Linked DNA regions of Homo sapiens: region 2 is linked to region 1. The links are contacts of gene promoters, found by promoter capture Hi-C in blood cells and fetal thymus (Javierre and others, 2016). All regions are on one chromosome and are shown on one strand. The core of a region is centred on a gene start or on the middle of the fragment in contact, and the rest is flanking DNA. Distances in the headings are between cores, read along the strand shown.

Region 1 (3,410 bases), core at 233-2,732:
AGGATTGCTCAAGCCCGGGAGGCAGAGGTTAGCAGTGAGCTGAGATTTTGCCACTGCACTCCAGCATGGGTAATAGAACAAGACTGTTTCCAAATAAATAACTAAATAAATAGAAAGAGAAAGAAAAACCCAGCAGCCAGGAGCAGAACACAATAATGGCCTGAAAGAGAATATGAGGCCAGCATGGGGGCTCACATCTATAGTCCCAGCACTTCGGGAGGCCTGAGGCGGGAGGATCACTTGAGGCTAGGAGGTCGGGACCAGACTGGGCAACATAGTGAGACTCCCAATCTCTACAGAAAAATTTTGAGCCAGGCATGGTGTCGTGCCCCTGCAGTCCTTGCTAATAGGAGGCTGAGGCTGGAGGATCATGAGTTTAGGAAGCCGAGGCTGCAGTGAGCTATGATCGCACCACTGCACTCCAGCCTGGGCGACAGAGAGGCCCTTGTATCAACAAAACAAAAATGTGAGAGAGGGTAATAGTGAGAACTGGGGTCAGCCAGGTCTAAAAGAGTGCTGATGTCTTCACAGAAAAAGGGGAGGCAGGCCCTGGGCGGTGGCTCCTGTCTGTAATCCCAGCACTTTGGGAGGCCGAGGCGGGCAGATCACCTGAGGTCAGGAGTTCGAAACCAGCCTGACCAATATGGTGAAACACCGTCTCTACTAAAAATACAAAAAGTAGCCGGGTGTGGTGACGCGTGCCTGTAGTCCCAGCTACTCGGGAGGCTGAGGCAAGAGAATCACTTGAACCCGGGAGGTCGAGGTTGCAGTGAGCCGAGATCACGCAACTGCACTCCAGCCTGGGCGACAGAGTGAGATTCCGTTTCAAAAACAAAACAAAACAAAACAAAAAAAGTTGGTGGGGAGGCAGGAGGATACCTTTCGTGTTGGGTGGTGGAAAAGATTCCAGCGGGTGAGGTGGGAACTGAGCCCAAGCAAAGCAGCCCAATCTACCTTCTTTCTGTTGCACCCTACAAACGCTCTGAAAGCAGCTGAAGACAGAGTTCTCCAAGAAGGAACCAAAGGTCAAGATAATGCTGAGTCTGCCTTACACCCGCAGGCTTGCTGGGACCCACGCAGCCCGAGCCCCGGCCCGTTTCCTTCTCGGGCTGGGGCGCTGGATGGAGCACCGGGGTAGGAGGGCGGGCTCCGGGCGCCGGGAGCGCAGCTGCCGGGGGTCGGGGGGGCGGACAGGCCGGGTCCCTGCCACCCCAGCCAGGTCCGCGCCCGCGTCCCCGCGTCCCGCGGCCCCAGGGCCTCACCGCGCGCGCCCAGCTCGGCGGCCGCCACGTGCTCGGTGAGCACTGTCCCGAATCGCCGCAGCCGAGACACGATCCGCTCGTACAGCGTCCTGTCCTCGCGTCCGCCGCGAATGCTCCCGCAGAAGTACAGGGCCGGGCGGCCAGGCTCCCCGCGCTCCCAGCTCTCGCTGCGCCCCGGCACCATGGCAGCAGCCATTCCCCAGCCGCCCGCGCTCTCCGGCGCCAGGGGGCGCCAGCCCGCGGCCACGTGACCCCGCCCGGCCCAGCGCAGAGCCCGGCTGCTGAGTCCACACCTGTGGAATGGGGACGACGAACTGGGAGGATCCAGCCGGGACCCTTTCGGGAACACACCCTTCCTGGACTTGACGTTCGGATGCCTAACACGCACCTTAACTTGACCTTGTCCAGGCAGAACTCGAGGGCTTCCCCACCTCACCCGCTTCTGCTCCCCTCCTCCCCGCCGTCTTCCCCAGCTGCATCCTCCCAGCTGCTCAGGCCCAAGACCCTCGGAGTCATCTGGATCGTTCCCTTTCTCTCAAACTCTGCGTCCCATCCATTGACAACTCGTGTGGATTCGTCCTTCCAAATCTGAAATCTCACGACCGCCTACAGGGCCACCACCCTGGTCTAAGCCTCCTCTGGGCTCTCCACAGCCTCCTAACAGGTGTCCACATGTCGTGAGCTGCTCAAGGTCAGACAGAACCAGGTCCACCCACCTTTGTGTCTGTCCACAAGATCAGGTTTTTACTGATGCTATTTCAATCACAAAAGCTAGGCGTCACACGGAGTTCCCAAGAAGTCAGTTCTCCTTAGGACCACCTGTTCACTCGGTAGTCAGAGCCGCGGGCATGCAAGCTGGAGCCACTCCACAAGTCAGACTGTATTGCAAACCATCCATAGTATTATATGTAAGGATATAAATGTTACAGGTTAAAATTTCACATCAAACACAAGAACATTTAACATCAAGAGAAAAGGGGTTAACGAACCAGTCCAAGGAGAGTGCTGTGGACAGAGTCCCGGCCTGATGGGGATAGTCATCAAGAGCTTGCAAGGAAGAGTCCTTGATTTGGGCAGAGCCTTCAGAGGCAGACACCAGGTGCTGGGCACGAGTGATAGCAAGACTCGGTCTGTTAAGGTGGCCGTGTCTAGCTGCTGAAGTCCTGATCATTTTATGGTCCTTGAGTCCTCTGATGAGGACTTATAGTAAAGGGTGATGCCCTTATCTGGTTGGGTGTTGTCTCCATTGGTTAGGCGAACATCTGGACCCTGTTGGCTTGATGCCTTTTGAAATGTAAGATGAAGTTTTTTAAAACTTTATTTATTTATTTATTTATTATTTTTGGTGACAAGGTCCCTGTCGCCCACACTGGAGTGCAGAGGCACGATCATTGCTCACTGCAGCCTCAAACTCGTGCCTCAAGTTTGAGGGTTCAAGGAATCCTCCCACCTCAGCTTCCTGAGTAGCTAGGACTACAGGCACGTGCCACCATGCTGAGCTAATAAAAAAAAAATTGGCTGGGCTCGGTGGCTCATGTCTGTAATCCCAGCACTTTGGGAGGCCGAGGTGGGCAGATCACGAGGTCAGGAGATCGAGACCATCCTGGCTAACGCGGTGAAACCCCGTCTCTACTAAAAATACAAAAAGTTAGCCAGGCGTGGTGGCACACTCCTGTAGTCCCAGCTACTCCAGAGGCTGAGGCTGGAGAATCGCTTGAACCCGGGAGGCAGAGGTTGCAGTGAGCCAAGATCACGCCACTGCACTCCAGCCTAGGCAACAGAGTGAAACTCCATCTCAAAAAAAAAAAAATTGTAGAGACGAGGTCTCACTATGTTTCCACGGCTGGTCTCAAAACTCCTAGACCCAAGCAATCCCCCTACCTCAGCCTCCCAAAGCGCTGGGATTACAGGCATAAGCGAATGTGCCCAGTGATGGAGTCTTTCTAAGATGGAATTACTTATGTCAAGGGTTCTCTATACACCTCCCCTGGCCCTTCCCTGCTACAGTTTGCTCTCCACTCAGCAGCTTGAGTGATCTAGGTCATGACCCTCCTCTGCTCAAAACCCTCCAGTGGTTCCCATCTCACTTGGGGTAAAAACTGAAAACCTCACAGTAGCTCACAAGGCTCCAGATGATCCTGTCACCCT
Region 2 (3,654 bases), core at 164-2,663, 220 kb after region 1:
CATCGTGGGCCGCACAGGCTCCGGCAAGTCTTCCCTGTTGTTGGTGCTCTTCCGGCTGCTAGAGCCCAGTTCAGGGCGAGTGCTGCTGGACGGCGTGGACACCAGCCAGCTGGAGCTGGCCCAGCTCAGGTCTGGGGGAGATGGACTTGGGAGGGGAAGGGGGAACCAGAACTACTGGCACTTAGAGGAGGGCATAGCCAGGAAGGCTTTATATAAACTCACAGCAGCCAGGGCTGATCAGGGGGCTGAAATGGAGGACAGGATGAGCAGGCAAGGACAGCGAACTCCTAGTGCCCAGGTCCAGATTCATGGCTGGTGATCTCAAGGTCTTCCTCGCCCTGACCCAGGCCACCTTTCCAGCTTCATCTTTCTTGTACTTCCTACCATACACCCTCCACTCTTGTGCCCCAAGATACTGATCCCCTGAGTCCTAGGCTCAGCAGGCAGTGCTTCAGACAGCTTGAGACCTGAACCGGTTGCCCTTGGCTTCAGGTGGCCTCACTGGAGGGTATACAACCCTTCCTTACCTCCAGGTCAACCTAGTATCATTTTCTCTGAGTACGGTGACATGGAAAAGGTAGGGAAGCTGTATCCTAAAGCCCTAGGCCTGCCTCTTCTGCCTTCTCTTCTAAGCTGTGGTGGCCCTACCTTATAGCTCCATCATGTCTTCAGGACCCAATTCTAGGCCCACTCCAACCTTGAAGTGTCACCTGCCCTTTCAGTCGCTCTGGTCATTCCCTGCGTAGCCACTGCCACCCCTGGAGTCAGTGCCACACAGTTTAGCCCATTTGTTTTGTCTGGTTTGTGTGTGTGCACCTCCGTGAAATGTAGGCACCTTGAGGACAGAGTCCAGCCTTTGGTTTCTTTGGTATTGCTCATAGCACTGGCACAGTTCTAGGTACCCAGCTACTAACAGATCATTTGGTGGGGATGGGGTGGGGAGCAGAGTGGGGTTATGTTCAGGTCTCATACCCAGGCTTTCATGGAGGTGCTAGCCCTGTAGTCAGAAACTGAGCTGGGAGCAGAAGTGGCTACATCTCCAACCACTAGACTCCATGTCATTGTCCCCCAGATCCCAGTTGGCTATCATCCCCCAGGAGCCCTTTTTGTTCAGTGGGACTGTTCGGGAAAACCTGGACCCCCAGGGCCTACATAAGGACAGGGCCTTGTGGCAGGCCCTGAAGCAGTGCCACCTGAGTGAGGTGATTACATCCATGGGTGAGTGCTGGACCCTGACCTTAGAGCAAGAAGGGAGCAGGGATGGCCTGGGCCCTGCAACGAAGATGCTTTCCTTGCAGGTGGTCTGGATGGTGAGCTGGGTGAGGGGGGCCGGAGCTTATCTCTTGGGCAGAGGCAGCTGTTGTGTTTGGCCAGGGCTCTCCTCACAGATGCCAAGGTAAGGTGAGAGAAAGAGACATTAGAGAGGGCCAGGAAGAAGGCTGGGGGCCGGGAGGTGGGGAGGTAGAGTGGGGAGAGGTTTTAGGGGACCAAGTTCATTTTCCTTTTAGAGCTGGAAGTGGGGAGCTGTGGTAGGGGCTGTTGCTTGGGCCAGGCCCAACCCACCCTGCAGCCTCTCCTTCCTTCTTATCCCCTACCCCATTCCCATATTCCAGATCCTGTGTATCGATGAGGCCACAGCAAGTGTGGACCAGAAGACAGACCAGCTGCTCCAGCAGACCATCTGCAAACGCTTTGCCAACAAGACAGTGCTGACCATTGCCCATAGGTATGTAAACGCCTGGTAACAGCCTAATCAGGGACTGTGGTAGCATGCACCGAGAGCCTCCGTTGCTTTCAGGGACCCCAGTGGTCAGGGCCTTAGAGATCCTGCCCCCCCAGATCTCAGCTCCTCCTTCTCCAGGGACGAGAAGGGTCCTTTATAGCACTGCCTAGGGCCCTTTATAGCACATTATCTGAGGGCCCTTTATAGCACTGCCTAGGGCCCTTTATAGCACATTATCTGAGGGACTCTGCAGTCCCTTCCCCAGCACCAAGCCAGGGGCTAAAGCCTGTGGGGACAGACCTGTGGTGTCCCGAGGGGAGAGGAGGGAAAGCAGGTCAGTGTTCTTACTTAGGGCATTGTCCCTCATCCCCTACACTGACCATCTTCCCCCTCACAGGCTCAACACGATCCTGAACTCAGACCGGGTGCTGGTGCTACAAGCGGGGAGAGTGGTAGAGCTGGACTCCCCGGCCACCCTGCGCAACCAGCCCCACTCCCTGTTCCAGCAGCTGCTGCAGAGCAGCCAGCAGGGAGTCCCTGCCTCACTCGGAGGTCCCTGAGCCCAATCCCACACCCTGCAGAGTTCTCCCCTCTCTCTGATCCAGGCCGGGCCTATACAGAGGTGCTGGCTGCTTGTTTACATTCTCCTCTGGGGCTCTACCTCTCCACACTTCCCCAGAAGGGAAAAGGGCACCCTGGATTACTCTTTGGAAATCACTCCTTGGTGGGCAGCATCCTGAGGCTTCCCCAGAACCAGGCCTCTGCTCTGGCCCTCTTGCATCTGGAACGCCAGGTGGGTTTTTCTGGCATAGGAGCCCACTTGCATTTTCATAGTTTTATTTGATAAAATTCCATCTTACATTCTGTGTATTAAAAAAATAATATTTCTGGTGTGAGGCTGAGGTCTCCTCTGTGTGTGTACCCAAGCTGAAGGGTGGTGAGAACGGACCACTCCAGTCTGAGGGGTGGAAGAGGTGAGGAAGGGGGCCAGAAAGCCCCCACCTCCATCACAGTGCTGTGGTCTTTCCAGGCTCAGGGGGCAAGTCACGTGGCAGGGGGAGCCCTGCTGGCAGCATGCTAACCTGACACTCCTGGTCCTGGCACGCTGGAGCATAGTGTGGGGCAGGGTAGCAACAGGGTCCAGGGGGGCAGACACCCCGGCGCCAGGCCCTCAGGGTCAGCAACACAGTAGCCAGAACCAGGGCAGCAGTGAGGGCCCCAAACACCACCAGGGCCACCAAGCTAGGCTCACCTAGCCCAGCCTCTTGCCTCCGCACCACCTCCTTCACTGAGATCCGCAGCAGACCAGCCCCTGCGCTGTGGGGGGCTGGCCCCGTGGCAGGTACCACTACAGCTGAGGTGGGCCCTAGAGGGGTGTCCACTGTGGTTGGGGGGTCTGGGACAGGTAAGACAAGCTCACAGGTCTTGCCACCATAGCCACTGGGGCAGAGGCAGTCGAAGTCGTGGACACGGTCCCGACAGCGGGCCCCTCTCTGGCATGGGCGGCTGGCACAGTCATCCAGGTTGATGGTGCAGAAGCGTCCAGCAAAGCCCTCAGGACAGAGGCAGGAGAAGCGGTTTATGCCGTCAAGGCAGGTGGCACCGTTAGCACAAGGCCGCATCAGGCAGTCATCCACATTTACCTCACAGCGGGCACCCACAAAGCCCACCAAGCAGCGGCACGTGAAGTTGAGAGCAAAGCCCTGGTCGTCCTGGCACTGCCCGCCATTGCGGCATGGGGAGCTGTGGTAGGGGTGAGAGAGGACATGATAACCAACTTACCAACACCTGTAGGGCAGCCCAGGTCAGTATCCTGACCACTGCCCGCCATGTCATCTTGGGCTACACACTCCGAGCCTCAAATACCTCATTTTAAAAATGAGAATAAAAATAGTACCCAGCTTCCCTAATTGTGAGGGTTGAGTGAAATA

The links. Contacts are between HindIII fragments. The CHiCAGO score rates a contact against its expected background, and 5 or more counts as called.
Region 2: a contact is called between a fragment that was not itself captured here and the fragment with the promoter of DNPH1 in region 1, in 2 of 17 cell types (total B cells and endothelial precursors). The highest score is 5.0, in total B cells.

What each region holds. Positions count from the first base shown.
Region 1 is chr6:43,227,999-43,231,408 of GRCh38, forward strand. DNPH1 (2'-deoxynucleoside 5'-phosphate N-hydrolase 1) reads right to left here and starts at 1,483. Exons shown (of 4, transcript NM_006443.3): 1 at 1,263-1,483. The coding sequence starts at 1,458. RefSeq lists silencers at 1,092-1,281, 1,342-1,781 and an enhancer at 1,265-1,764. The HindIII fragment of the contact is 28,530 bases long and covers 1-3,410 here.
Region 2 is chr6:43,447,809-43,451,462 of GRCh38, forward strand. ABCC10 (ATP binding cassette subfamily C member 10) reads left to right here. Exons shown (of 22, transcript NM_001198934.2): 18 at 1-129; 19 at 1,073-1,218; 20 at 1,299-1,396; 21 at 1,614-1,726; 22 at 2,121-2,619. The coding sequence ends at 2,283. It overlaps DLK2 (delta like non-canonical Notch ligand 2), which reads right to left. Exons shown (of 6, transcript NM_023932.4): 6 at 2,544-3,466. The coding sequence ends at 2,731. Among named protein-coding and RNA genes, the nearest start is that of DLK2, 5.9 kb to the right of the region's middle. The HindIII fragment of the contact is 9,873 bases long and covers 1-3,654 here.